Regions from separate parts of the Homo sapiens genome. Here all the other regions are linked to region 1. Evidence: promoter capture Hi-C in human tissues and cell types (Jung and others, 2019). All regions are on one chromosome and are shown on one strand. The core of a region is centred on a gene start or on the middle of the fragment in contact, and the rest is flanking DNA. Distances in the headings are between cores, read along the strand shown.

Region 1 (2,587 bases), core at 42-2,541:
GCGAGACTCCGTCTCAAAAAAAAAAAAAAAAAAAAAAAAAAAAGGCAAGTTTGGGAAACATCGGCCTAGCTTACTTATAAAGGTAGGAATAGTTTCCTTGGCTGGATTAAAATATCTCCTCAACTTATGGCTAACTATCTCAAGTTGGTCACTTCGAAAACACGTTCCTATTCTGGGTTAAAGATGCATTTTTGGGTTCAAACAACTTCCAAATCAGTTTTCGTGGCCCCCATTCTATGACTCCAAGAATGACAGGTTGAAGTCCCAACCCAGATGCCTGGACCAGCTCTCGGAGACCGACTCCAGCCCCATACCTGTAGGTGACGATGCAAGAGGTGGGCTGTAATTGGGGAGCAGTAGAGGGGCCGGGCCCAGGTGCTAGACAGGCCCACGGTGTGGTCCGAGTGCATGTGAGACAAGAAGAAGAGACGTGCGGTGCCAGCCCGGCGCAGGCTCCAGAAGTCCACTGCGATGGGCGTATGGGGGATCAGGACCCCATTCATGGTGGTAGGGTTGGAGTCACCAGTGGGATCTTCTCCACGGGGGCAGGGCTCCTGCGTGAGGCTTCCACAACGGCGTCCCGATAAAAGTCATGCTGGGGCAAGAACAGGGCCAGAGACCCTAAGGGAAAGAGCCCAGCAGAGCAATAAGTTACCAGAGTGGGCAGAAAAAGGAAGTCACCCTGCCCGCTGGAGCCCAAATCGCGGAGGGCGCTGGACACTCCCAACCGCGCGGGAGCGGAGGCCGAGCCGGGCACTCAAAGCGCGCGCTGCAGGGAGGAGACAGGCCAAAGTAGCCGATTTCCGATTGCCCGCCGCAGCTCCACCAGAGGGAGCCGCGCAGCTGCGCCTGGAGAGTGAGAGGTTGGGGGAAGGGCATCCTAAGGTCGGAGTCGGGACTACGCTTAGCGCTCGCTCGCGGGGAGACCGGCAGCGGTCTTCTGTTTGGTCTCTTGACAAGGGGGCGGGACTTCCGCAGAAAGCAAGATTGGGCCTATCCGCGATGAGAACGGCGTGGAGGGGGAATTAAGGCTGGAACTGGAGAGGGAGGGGTCTGCGGTCAGTCGGACGCGGCGCTGGAAATCCGGCGGAGGACCTAGAAGTAGCGGGAGCGATCTGTGGGCGGGGCGAACGGCCTGCCGGCCGACGGTAGGGCCTGAAGAGCCTAGGGTGGGGCTCGCGGTGTCGCGGAGGGCGTGGAAGTGTGTCAGGGCCAGCGTGCCGGCCCTACGGAAGCCGAGCCTGAGGCGAGATCTCGCCTTTTGTATTTTCACTGACTCATATTTCCTTTACTCAGGCTCCCACATCAGGACGAGAAGGAGCCCTCGAGTTACCGTGGGAGCTGTGGGAGCTGCCCTGTGACTCTTAGGAAGATGCCGTACCTTGGCTCCGAGGACGTGGTGAAGGAGCTGAAGAAGGCTCTGTGCAATCCTCACATTCAAGCTGATAGGCTGCGCTACCGGAATGTCATCCAGCGAGTGATTAGGTATCACCTACCTCCCTTCGCGTGCTAACTGCTCCCTTTGCAATCCCCATCAGGGCTCACTAGCCCCAGTCTCTCTGAAAGGGTGAATTAGCTTTCACACGTGGCAGTTATATGGTTCGGTCTTCGTCCTGCTGCTTTGGAGTACCATGTCAGTCTCCCCTCTGCAGCATCTTTTACTCAGCTGGGTAGTTTCCTCCATATCACGGGCTTGAGCAATTACTGGTGACTCTTGGATCTATAATATAGCTAGTACAGACTTCCTTTTTTAGCTTCAGACCCACGTATCCCACTGCCTGCTTGGCATTTCCACGTGCGTGGTTTATCAAAAGTATGTCCGAAATAGCCCGGACATTCTTCCGTCTTCCTCAAACCTGTTCAGCTTACATTTGTGTTGATGAATGCCACCAGCAGCCGACTATGCGTGGGAGCCAACCTTGAGGACACCTGATCTCTCACTTCTTATGTCAGATGGTTTGAATTCATAATTCTAAATATCCATCCTCTCTTGTTTATTAGCATTGTTGTTCTGGTCCAGGCCTTCATCAATAAAGCAATTGCAGCAGCTTACTAGTAGGCCACTTTGCCTCATTTGAGACAGAATTTTTCCATTATACATACCTGAACACATAACTCTTGCCTACAGCTATGGTTCACAAACTTTACTATGCATAAAAATCCCTTGGGGTGCTTTTTGTCATCCAGTCCAGGGACTGATTCTGATTTCAGTAGGGTGGGAGGGAACCCAGGAATCTGTATTTTTAATAAACATTTCAGTTGGTTCCAGTAGGAGACCAGTCTGAGAAACAATAAAGTCCAAACTTATCACAGCACCCAAGGAACAAGCTGTTAATTCAACTACCTACAGACTCTTAAAAAAATGTGTGCTGCTCCTGCTCATGTCTACTTACCTCATAGCATGTATCTTTACCTTGCTATTACATCTGCCTAGTGAGCTCCTGCTCATTCAGCTAAAGTATTACTTCCTCTGTGAAGAAACATTTTCTGACTTCCTGCCAGTGTCAGACCTCTGAATCCCCTCTACACCTTGTACAATACTTCTGTTTAAGTACTTATCTATCATACTGTAATTAACGGTATTCTC
Region 2 (2,587 bases), core at 26-2,525, 840 kb before region 1:
TATGTAATAGTGTCAGTGACCTTGCTGTGCACTAGAATTATTCCTTAACAACTAAAAACTATAGTAAAATTATCTATGTCTCATAAACAGACACTGTTATTTAATTTTAAGGTAATTGTAGCATTTAGTTTTTCTATTTGTTTCTTCTTACCTTAGCTGATTTTTAAAAAATAATTTTAGACTAATTGTTGTGGATTCTGTTGGATTAGATAGGGAAGATTAACACAAATTGAAACCACAATTTTATGTTCTGAAGCATAAAAGATTAGATTTTTTTTTTTTTCCTCTCTGAGACAGAGTCTTGCTCTGTCGCCAAGGCTGGAGTGCAGTGGGGTGATCTTGGCTCACTGCAGCCTCTGCCTCCCAGGTTCAGGTGATTCTTCTGCCTCAGTCTCCTGAGTAGCTGAAATTACAGGCGCGCATCACCATGCCTGGCTTATTTTTGTATTTTTAGTAGAGACGGGGTTTCACCGTGTTGGCCAGTCTGGTTTTGAATTCCTGACCTTGTGATCCACCCGCCTCGGCCTCCCAAAGTGCTGGGATTACAGGCATGAGCCACCGTGCCTGGCAAGATTAGATATTAAGGCTTTCATTTCATTGACATGATTTATAGAAATAGATTTAACGAAGTCCTTTTTGTTTAGTGTAATCTTTGTATTCTGAATATTAGTTTACTACATGAACATTTTAATATATAAATGCATCCATAGCTGTCTAAAAATTACATGTTTACATATGTACAAAGAAACCACAATTGGGATGAAGATTATTGGCAGTAAAACATGGCTGTGGTTGTACAGTTGTGAAATAGTTCAGTTAAAGGGGGCACACAGCTAAGAAAACAGATTTGGTAATGCAATGGAACCCCCAGATTTTAAAGGGGGGTTTTGTAAAATCAGTAAAAATAGTACGTAATTAGGAACAAATATATATAGAAGGGTAGAATTAGCCATAAAATGGCAAGAAAGAATAAGGCTTATAAAGCATTTGTTTGAGATGTGAAAATAGACCTGAATTGTTTGGTGAATGATTTGATCCAGGTTAGTCTAAAGGTGACAGACAAGAGAAAAGCAAAACTAGAAAATTCCTGTCGCGCTCCTAGTTTTTTCTGCTGAATGCAATAATTTTCATACTTGAAACATAGCAAAGCAAGAGAAAACTGAGGCCCCAGATGAGTGAGAAAATAACAGGATTACTTGGCGGTTGCTAGGGTGCTAGTTGCTAGGTGTGTGATAGTAGTCAAATAGAGACCTATGACAGGAACTGTAAATGTCCTGATTTTTCAGTCAGATGTGGGAACTATTGAGCTTACTTTTCATCCCTAGCAAAAACCCCAGAGCCAGTGAATAAATAACTTGGCAGACTAGCTCATGATAGCATAATGGTCAATATGGAGAAATGTTGGATGGATAGCAGTTAGTAAGAGACTGATTTTAGAGAAGTCTCCAGGTGTATGCTGCCAGATGCTATCCTCGCCCTGCTTTTTTCAGAGACCTAATGAGTAGTTCTGTGAGTACCTATGTGCTACGTAAGCACTTATTTTAGGCTTTTTACGTGCAGCAACTCATTTAACCATCTCAACAACTCTGTGAGACAGGTGTTAAGGTAGGAGAATGAATGATTAAAAGATAAACTACAAAGAGTCTGATAATTTAAAATTAGTCACCAAATTGGAATACTAGATTAACCAACAGAAGGCATTTTAAAAGCATTAGGTTATAGTTTTTTTATTTGGGAACAAACGATCCATTACGGAGGAACTGAAAGAAAACCTGATTTCGCTAATGTGATTTGTGAAGAAATGATGGGGATGTGTTTTAGTTTTACAAAGTTATAAAACTTCAGTCTACAGAATCAAGGAGTGTAATCACTCAGTACTTTATATTGGTCGGGTACATTAAGAATAGTAGTGAAATGCACTTTAATGAATAATTACTTAGAACCTATCCAGAAGACAGCAATTAGTGTTAAAAATGGTTGTGTTCAGAAAATTGGAAGAAACAGTGGAAGTCAAGGGGAGGTATGTCTGAGAATACAGAGTAGTTTTCTAAAGATCTTATGGTGAAATAGGCTACCTTTTCCAAATTGATTGTCAATCAGTAGAAGCCAAGCAGACCAGATTAGGGGGGAAAAACAACTTAGATGTTGTAATAAATTACAAAGCATAGATTTCCACCCCCTCTCCCCAAAGGAACTTGGAAACCAGTTAGGTGCTCCCACTTTACTTTTGAGGAAAAAATCCCAGAGATGTTAAAAGTACTTGAGAGTCAGGACTGAAAGCCAGTCTTTTGACTTTTATGTTCTTCAGGGAACTTTAATCAATTTCTTGAGTTACAAATGAAGTTTAAATTTGACCTGAGATTTGTTCCATTTCTGCTTTTATTAAAGGAGGACTAATTTTGTCAATGACTTTTTCAGTTTAAAAGTAAATATGTAGAAAAGGGTAGAAGGTCTAAACTTTATGAGGCTGGAGATATTTGTCTGTTGTGTTACCTACTATATGAGTAGAACCTAAAATAATGCTGATGCATTGTATGAACTTAATTGTGGTTGAATGAATAAGGCAGTGGTTAAGAATGGAGTCAGA
Region 3 (2,587 bases), core at 43-2,542, 820 kb before region 1:
GTAAGAGATCAAGGCATGTTTTATTTATGAATACTTATTAATTCCTTAAACAATTTTATTTAAACAATTCTATTTAGGAAAAGCAGGCATTTTGGTAGTTTAGAAGTATTTAAAGTCCAGCAGCTGTTCTAAAAATAGAACTTGGCTTCAGGTTCCCTACCCCATTTCAATAGCAGCCAGCCAACCTACCCTGTTAACATTTGTGCTGTTATTTTTTGCTTACTTGTCTTTCTATGTAGTAGAGATGAAATAAAATTGAAAGATGTACCTGCCTTTGTTTTGTAGTGAATGGCATTACTGAGGAAGCTGATCCCACCATTTACTCTGGCAAAGTAATTCGCCCCCTGAGGAGTGTTGATCCAACACAGACTGAGTACCAAGGAATGATTGAGATTGTGGAGGAGGGTAAGGATCATCACTATCAGGCTGTTTGAAATTTGCCATAACTTCAGATGAGCACCTATAAAGTTTTAAAATATGGTGCTTATTGCAGTTGTTTTTAGGTTTAAAACTGAATTAAGGAAAAGTGACCTCTCTCATGCTTGCTTTTTATTTTTATACCCCTTGAAAATGAGGTCAGTCTGGGTTTAAATAGTGAAAACGTGACTGCTTTGTGAGCACATGACTGATACATGAGCAACTATGAGTTATATTGAGATAGACTTAACAACAAACTCTGATAACCAAAGCTTTTACTGTTGAGTGTATGATAATCAAATATTCAGTTCCTTCATTAGTATTTAAATCAGTAAGCATTCAGTTCTGTATTTTTGCTTCCTGTAAAAGTTTACTGTTTTTTTCCCCCCTACACTACACATATGTACATAATCTGTTTCTTAATAGCTAGAGTTCTATGAGGATCCTATTTCTCGTTTCTAGCTCAGGCTTCCTTTCATTCTCTACTTTCTTCTTCTTTTTTCCCCATCTATCTTCAAGAATTCCCAGAGTTCCAGTGCCGCTGTTCCCCCAACAGTCACCATCAGAAAGGCCAACTTTGTATGATCTGTATGCATAAAATAAATACATGATAGAAATAGGAGAGAACTCTGTAGATGATTAGGATAGCAGAATTACATGATGTGGAGTAGATGAGAGGGCTTGAGTATTCCAACCAAAGATGATGGCTTGGTAGGCCGGGCGTGGTGGTTCACGCCTGTAATCCCAGCACTTTGGGAGGCTGAGGCGGGCGGATCACGAGGCCAGGAGTTCGTGACCAGCCTGGCCAGCATGGTGAAACCCCGTCTCTACTATTAAAAAAACTAATAATAAAAAAATTTTAAAAAGAAAAGATGATGGCTTGGTTTACAAAGAGAATAAAGTCCTTGCATCATCTAAGAGTCAGCGAACATAAAGTGCTGAATAGCAGGTCATTTGGGAGAAGGAAATGAACCTTGATAACCTATTCCTTTACCACATGGGATTCTTAGAATTTCTGTTCTACATAAAACCACTGTTCTCCCACCTCTAAATATGAATTTTTAAACAAATGCCATGACATCACACCCCTAAAAAGGCCATGGGAGTATGGACTACTAACTTTAACTCATAATATGATATCAAATTGCCCTTCCATCTCCTAACGTGCTGCTTTTACTTCCTTTTCCATCCCCACTTCCCAGTCCACTCATTCTTCAGCACTGGCTGTGGGATATAGTCCAAAGCAAGGGTTTTATTTAGGCATCTCTAAGCCTGGTGGGATATAGTCCAAAGCAAGGGTTTTGTTTAGGCATCTCTAAGCCCGGGACTAGACAGATTACATTTTCCCACTTGGTAAGAACTAGCTCTTTTATTCAGGAACACAACTGTAACTTATACTAAGACTTTGAAGTTGGGCAGACCTAGATCTGGACACCGTTCTAGCATATAATCTTGGACAAATAACTTAAATCTTTGCTAGCTCAGTTTCTTCATCTTTAAAATGGTAATACCTTCAGCCTTAGATGGTTCTATAAAGTATGAATCAGTATGTGCATCATAAATGGTAATTATTGATATTGCATGAGGTCAGACCAGCTTCCTCTAATCACTCTTCCCATGACTTGATCTCTTTGGATTATCTCCTCAAAGTTTTTTGGTTCCTGTATTTAAAATTAAAAGTCAGCTGGGGTCGAGAGTAGGGGCTCACACCTGTAATCCCAGCACTTTGGGAAGCCAAGGCAGGCAGATCACCTGAAGGTCAGGAGTTCGAGACCAGCCTGGCCAACATGGCGAAACCCTGTCTCTCCTAAAAATACAAAAATTAGCCAGGTATCATGGTGGGTGCCTATAATCCCAGCTACTTCAGAGGCTGAGGCAGGAGAATCACTTGAACCTGGGAGGCGGAAGTTGCAGTGAGCTGAATCATGCCACTGAACTCCAGCCTGGTTAACAGAGCATGACTCCGTCTCAAAAAAAAAAAAAAAAGTCAGGTGTGGTGGCTCACACCTGTAAACCCAACACTTCGGGAGGCCAAGGTGGGCAGATCACTTGAGCCCAGGAGTTTGAGACCAGCCTGGGCAACATGGCAAAACCCTGTCTCTACAAAAAATGCAAAAATTAGCCAGTCATGGTGTGTGCCTGTAGTCCCAGCGACTCAGGAGCTGAGGTG
Region 4 (2,587 bases), core at 23-2,522, 760 kb before region 1:
AAAATGTTTTTTGATATTCAGTGTTCTTTACTGAATCAATAAAACATTGATCTTTTCGCTTCAGTGAAAGTGGGGACATTGAAACCTGGGTGAAATAAAAGATAAATTTGAAGGGGTATTCTGCACTGGTTCCCAGAGGGTTGGACAGGATGGAATTTTATTCTCTTTTTCTTCTGCCCTGAATGAATAAGTTTTATCCTAAAGAAAAGAAAACATGATAATGTCTTCACTTTATAAGCAGTATAGCAAATTATAAGACTGAAGGATTAAGTAGATGATGATAAGAGAAAAAAATTTAAAGGACTGACTTTTTCACATCTATCTATTCCAGGTATTTACCCATTTTTTTCCTTCCTCCCTTTCCTTTTCCCTCTTCCTTCTTCCTTTTCCTTTTCTTTTCTTGGTCTTTCTCTGTCACCCAGGCTGGAGTGCAGTGGCACAATCATAGTTCACTGCAGCCTCCAACCCCTGGGCTCACACGATCCCTCCACCTCAGCCTCCCAGTTAGCTCGCATTACAGGTGCACGCCACCAAGACTGGCTAATTTTTTAAAAAACTTTTTGTAGAGATGGGGTCTCAATACGTTGTCTAGGTTGGGCTTGAACTCCCGACCTCGGGATCCTCCCATCTCAGCCTCCCAAAGCGCTGGGGGTACGAAGCCATTATGCCTGGCCCCTATTTTTGAGGAATAAATTCAAGATTTTTTTTTTTTTCTTATGAATCTTAGACTTCTGGTTAGTGGCGTGAAAACAGAGTTTTTAGCATTTAGTTCTGGCAATATTAATCCATTTATATTATTTGAAGGTTGTGCTGTACTTTTTAAAGTTAAATGTCTAACTTTCGTAGTTTTCATAGCAGTGATAAATATTTACAACAAAGGATATGGAGAGAAATTATTATTTTTTTTCCTTCAAGTTTGAATTCATAGAAATGACATATTTGCGGATTTTTTGTTTGGATGTTAAAATTCAGGGACAGATTGGTGGGGGAGAGAGAGAGTTATTTTTGCTGCTACTTAAAAGGGATTTGCATTTTTCTCTGTCTTTTTTTCTGTTGGAGTAAAAAACAAAATCTCCCAGCTGTGTGGGATGTGTTTGAATTGGTTACTTAGCAGTGTAAAGCATAATTTTGTATTTAAATATTTATCTGTACTCTTTGATATTCTGATTAAATAAGGATCTATTAAGGCTATAATAATAGAGCCTTCTGTGAGGAAATGACATAGGCTGCTCCACAACAGTATTTACTGAAAATTTCCTTTTCCCTGGGCCCTATTTAAACTATAAGGGGTAATTGGAACAAAAGGGGAAAATTATGTGAATTAGAGTGATGGTCAATTTAATCATGAGTGTAATGTGATAGCTATCAATGTATAGTTTTATTGACATAAATCAGGGTTGAGCAAAGAGTGGGAGAATTTTGTCTGCTGTTGTTAAAAATGGTGAGTCGTTGAACCAAATTTTATTTTTGAACTTTGCATTCGTCAAGTGTGATATTTTCAAGAGTCTGGTGATAATTGTATTTTTAAATCAAATTGGATCAATTTGCCTTTCAAATTTGTTGTTTCATTATTAGAAGAAAAAAACGAAGTAAAAAATACAGAGGTATGTGCAATGACTGGATCTGGAAGAACAAAAATATTGAGGGAAATGGTCACCTGAGAAAAACTATTAAGACTTTCAATGAAGATTATTTAAAATATGGCTTTGTCAAATGGGCAAAATCTGAGTAAAATGACAGACCCATGTCTTCATATAATGTTGCAAATGAAAATTAAAAACCTTTAAAGTTAAAAAGATTCTTGGAAACATAGCATACTGGACTTTTAAATAAGCCCTTTCAAATATTTTCAAAGAAAGAAAAAGAGATAAAGTTATCTCAGTTTCCTATTTATTCAAGAATCATTCCTGAGAAAGATTATTGTCTCATTTAGTTGTGTATCAGTGGCATAAGGGAAAAATGGCTACATATCTCTTGAAAAAAGTATTCATCTATAATTCATGGAAGTTGTGCTCATGATTTTTGATGCTAAATCAGCTGGAAATTAAAAATTATACTTCTTAGTGATGACATAGCTCTATTCTTTACCATTATTGGACATTTCAGCAGTGCTTGCAAGATGGGTAGAGTCTGGTGCAGATTTTGCAATCCAAATCGATGGGGTCGCTGATATTGTAAGTTGTACTGTGCTTTTAGGTAGTGAAGATAATAAGGAGGATTTTCTTTTCTTTTTTTTTTTTTTTTTTTTGAGACGGAGTCTCGCTCTGTCGCCCAGGTGCACAGTGGCACAATACCGGCTCACTGCAACCTCCGCCTCCCGGGTTCAAGCGATTCTCCTGCCTCAACCTCCTGAGTAACTGGGATTACAGGTGCGAGCCACCATGCCCGGCTGATTTTTGTATTTTTAGTAGAGACAGGGTTTCACCATGTTGGTCAGGCTGGTCTCAAACTCCTGACCTTGTGATCTGCCTGCCTCGGCCTCCCAAAGTGCAGGGATTACAGGCATGAGACACCACGCCCGGCAGGATTTTCTTGTTGTTTAAATTTAACCACAGCTGTATGGGTATATTTACAGAATTTTAAAAAA
Region 5 (2,587 bases), core at 49-2,548, 680 kb before region 1:
TCAAGATTTGTATAAAATGTTGTTTACAGATCTTTTAATGAATAAATACATAAACCCCCCACAGATCCCTTGGAGAATTCTTTAAGATCTTTTATGTCACTTAAATCTATAGCTAGCACATTTACCTAATGGTACTTCGGTAATAAGAATTAGTCTTAGACTGACCAGGCTTAATAACGGAGGTCAACATTTCCAGGCTCTTGGCAGACAAAGGCTGGGTCTAGACTGCACACTGGGCAGGGCATATAGTCTGACAACTTTATTTGGTTTTTACCTGCTTAATCAAAGGGAGGCTGCTTAGTCCAGGAGCCATGCAGAAGAGAGTGCATGGGCAGCAGCTTGAGTGGTTCGGAGGCAGTGAGGAATGCCATTCTATTACCGTTAAGTCCTAAAGGCAAAATGACAGGATTTTTAAGGAACTGAGGTTCCTTTTGATACGCAGACCATAAAGCTTCACAATTTTAATTGGAGACTGGCGCCCAATTCTAGAGTCTCTTTAAAAAATGTACTTACCCAATGCAAAGGTTTTAAGGGCACCGAGGGGGAAGGATAGTTGGGGTACAGCAAGGAAGTAAAAGAGGAATGACCCGGGGTGCAGTGGCTCACGCCTGTATTCCCCACATTTTGGGAGGCCAGGAGTTCGAGGCTAGGCTTGGCAACATAGAAAGGCTCCATCTCTACAAAAAAAATTAAAAATTAGCCAGGCATGGTGGTGTGCACCTCTAGGCCCAGCTACTCGGGAGGCTGAGGTGGAAGGATCGCTTGGGCCCGGGGGGTTGAGGCTGCAGTGAGCTATGATCACGCCACTGCACTCCAACCTGGGCAGCAGAACAAAGACCCTGTGTCTACAATAAAAAAGGAAAAAAGTCTCGCACAGAGGAAGAGAAGATTAAGGGGAGAAGGTGGGAGTAAGCAGAGGTGGGAAACCAGTTTATCTCTCCCCGCCAAATGCTGCAGCCAGTTCCCTCCAAAAGTGTTAAGGGGCTCCCTTTCCAGATATCAATGTTTTGGAGGAAACGAAAAGCCCCAACTTCAAATCGCCGCCATTCGCAGGCAAAAAAAGGGGCAGTAAGCAGAGGACAGGAAATTGAGGCCTTTCGCTGACGCAGACAAGCCAAGACGTTACGTCACGTCCGCCCAAAACAAACCAGCCCGGCAATTTCTAGATACCGGGCGGACCCGCCTTCAAAATTAGCAACTGAGCATGCACTAACGTCAATACGGAGGGAACGTGATTACATCAGTGTCAGGCGCCGGCGTAATTAAATATAACTGAGTTTACGCAGACGCAGAAAACGCAGGCAAACCTGAGGTCCTCAGAATGGCGGGCACAGGTTTGGTGGCTGGAGAGGTTGTGGTGGATGCGCTGCCGTATTTTGATCAAGGTTATGAAGCCCCTGGTGTGCGGGAAGCGGTGAGTGCGGGGTGTCTTTGTAGCTGACTCACTGCTAGCTGGCTCGGTACTGAAAGAAACATGTTACAATTTGCCACTTCTACCCTGGTCCCTATTCTCTTTCTTAGGCTGCAGCGCTGGTGGAGGAGGAAACTCGCAGATACCGACCTACTAAGAACTACCTGAGCTACCTGACAGCCCCGGATTATTCTGCCTTTGAAGTAAGTATGTCTTGAGCCTAGGTGTGAACGAGAATTCCTGTGAACCTTTATTTTGGATTGAGAGCTTTAAATTCCAGTTTTAACCATTGCCTGCATAGCTACTACTTACCTACTGTATAGGTGTCAGTCTATTGAAAACAACTAGATAGATAAGTCTTCTCCGAGGTTCTTATTCTAAGATCCATAGGAAGACTTTCTGGGGCTCCACAACTCACTTAATGCAAAAATTTGTGGCTACCATTCTTTGAGATAGGATCCATGCGTAAATTCTCAAAGGGACCCTCTCCTGCCAAGATTCACTCTACAGCAAGTGATCTAGGGTTTTTTAATATGTATAAGCCTAATTACCTAAGCTCTTTAGAACCACTGGAGAGTGGCATATTAAAGTCTAGTTATTTACCAAATGTATGTGATACGACTGAAAGGACAAACCATATCCAAGTGTATACTACTTTTTTCTCAGCCTTCTCCTTTTTTCTGTAATCTATCCGATGTTTTTATTAACACATTTCTGATTAATGTAGGCAATAATTTTCACTGATATGAATACTTTACAAGTGCTAGGTGCCATTCTAGATTCTGAGATCATAGAGATATATGGGGTTTCTTTTTTAATATATTTTGTTTTCTTTTAATTTTTCTTTTCTTTATTTAAGACAAACATCCTCTCCAAAAAAGATAGGGTTTCTGAATACAGAAAAATACAATACAGTGAGGAGCTAGATATATAAAACAAAAAGTTTACAATAGTATGTATAAATGTGTAATAATATGTAAAGGACCTATAGCGGAGGGTATGTATAAGGACAAGAGGATTAGAGAAGGGAGTGTCCATGATTGCCTAAGGAGTCAGATGCTGTTCTACTCCACACATTGAGTATGATACTATTTTAAATGTATAACCTTGAAGTACACCCAGGATTCTAGTTAGGGTCTAGTTAGCTAAATGAAATGTAAGATATCATTTCTAAAT

Evidence for each region. Contacts are between HindIII fragments. The study calls those that stand out against the background at their distance.
Region 2: a fragment that was not itself captured here is called in contact with the fragment with the promoter of AP4B1 in region 1 in 1 of the 25 tissues and cell types used here (hippocampus).
Region 3: a fragment that was not itself captured here is called in contact with the fragment with the promoter of AP4B1 in region 1 in 1 of the 25 tissues and cell types used here (dorsolateral prefrontal cortex).
Region 4: a contact is called between a fragment that was not itself captured here and the fragment with the promoter of AP4B1 in region 1, in 1 of the 25 tissues and cell types used here (liver).
Region 5: the fragment with the promoter of BCAS2 here is called in contact with the fragment with the promoter of AP4B1 in region 1 in 1 of the 25 tissues and cell types used here (hippocampus).

Annotation. Positions count from the first base shown.
Region 1 is chr1:113,903,503-113,906,089 of GRCh38, reverse strand. AP4B1 (adaptor related protein complex 4 subunit beta 1) reads left to right here and starts at 1,291. Exons shown (of 10, transcript NM_001253852.3): 1 at 1,291-1,485. The coding sequence starts at 1,373. DCLRE1B (DNA cross-link repair 1B) reads right to left here and starts at 764. Exons shown (of 4, transcript NM_022836.4): 1 at 315-764. The coding sequence starts at 503. RefSeq lists enhancers at 876-925, 956-1,515, 1,596-1,655. The HindIII fragment of the contact is 11,361 bases long and covers 1-2,587 here.
Region 2 is chr1:114,745,561-114,748,147 of GRCh38, reverse strand. The region is part of intron 2 of CSDE1 (cold shock domain containing E1); the gene reads left to right. Among named protein-coding and RNA genes, the nearest start is that of CSDE1, 11 kb to the left of the region's middle. The HindIII fragment of the contact is 6,146 bases long and covers 1-2,587 here.
Region 3 is chr1:114,721,701-114,724,287 of GRCh38, reverse strand. CSDE1 (cold shock domain containing E1) reads left to right here. Exons shown (of 20, transcript NM_001007553.3): 16 at 286-405. Among named protein-coding and RNA genes, the nearest start is that of NRAS, 6.2 kb to the right of the region's middle. The HindIII fragment of the contact is 4,950 bases long and covers 1-2,587 here.
Region 4 is chr1:114,660,768-114,663,354 of GRCh38, reverse strand. The region is part of intron 1 of DENND2C (DENN domain containing 2C); the gene reads left to right. Among named protein-coding and RNA genes, the nearest start is that of DENND2C, 8.0 kb to the left of the region's middle. The HindIII fragment of the contact is 3,641 bases long and covers 1-2,587 here.
Region 5 is chr1:114,580,326-114,582,912 of GRCh38, reverse strand. BCAS2 (BCAS2 pre-mRNA processing factor) reads left to right here and starts at 1,298. Exons shown (of 7, transcript NM_005872.3): 1 at 1,298-1,414; 2 at 1,522-1,614. The coding sequence starts at 1,322. DENND2C (DENN domain containing 2C) reads left to right here. Exons shown (of 21, transcript NM_001256404.2): 21 at 1-63. It overlaps LOC105378914 (a long non-coding RNA gene), which reads right to left and starts at 1,070. Exons shown (of 3, transcript XR_947719.4): 1 at 514-1,070; 2 at 275-388. The HindIII fragment of the contact is 13,820 bases long and covers 1-2,587 here.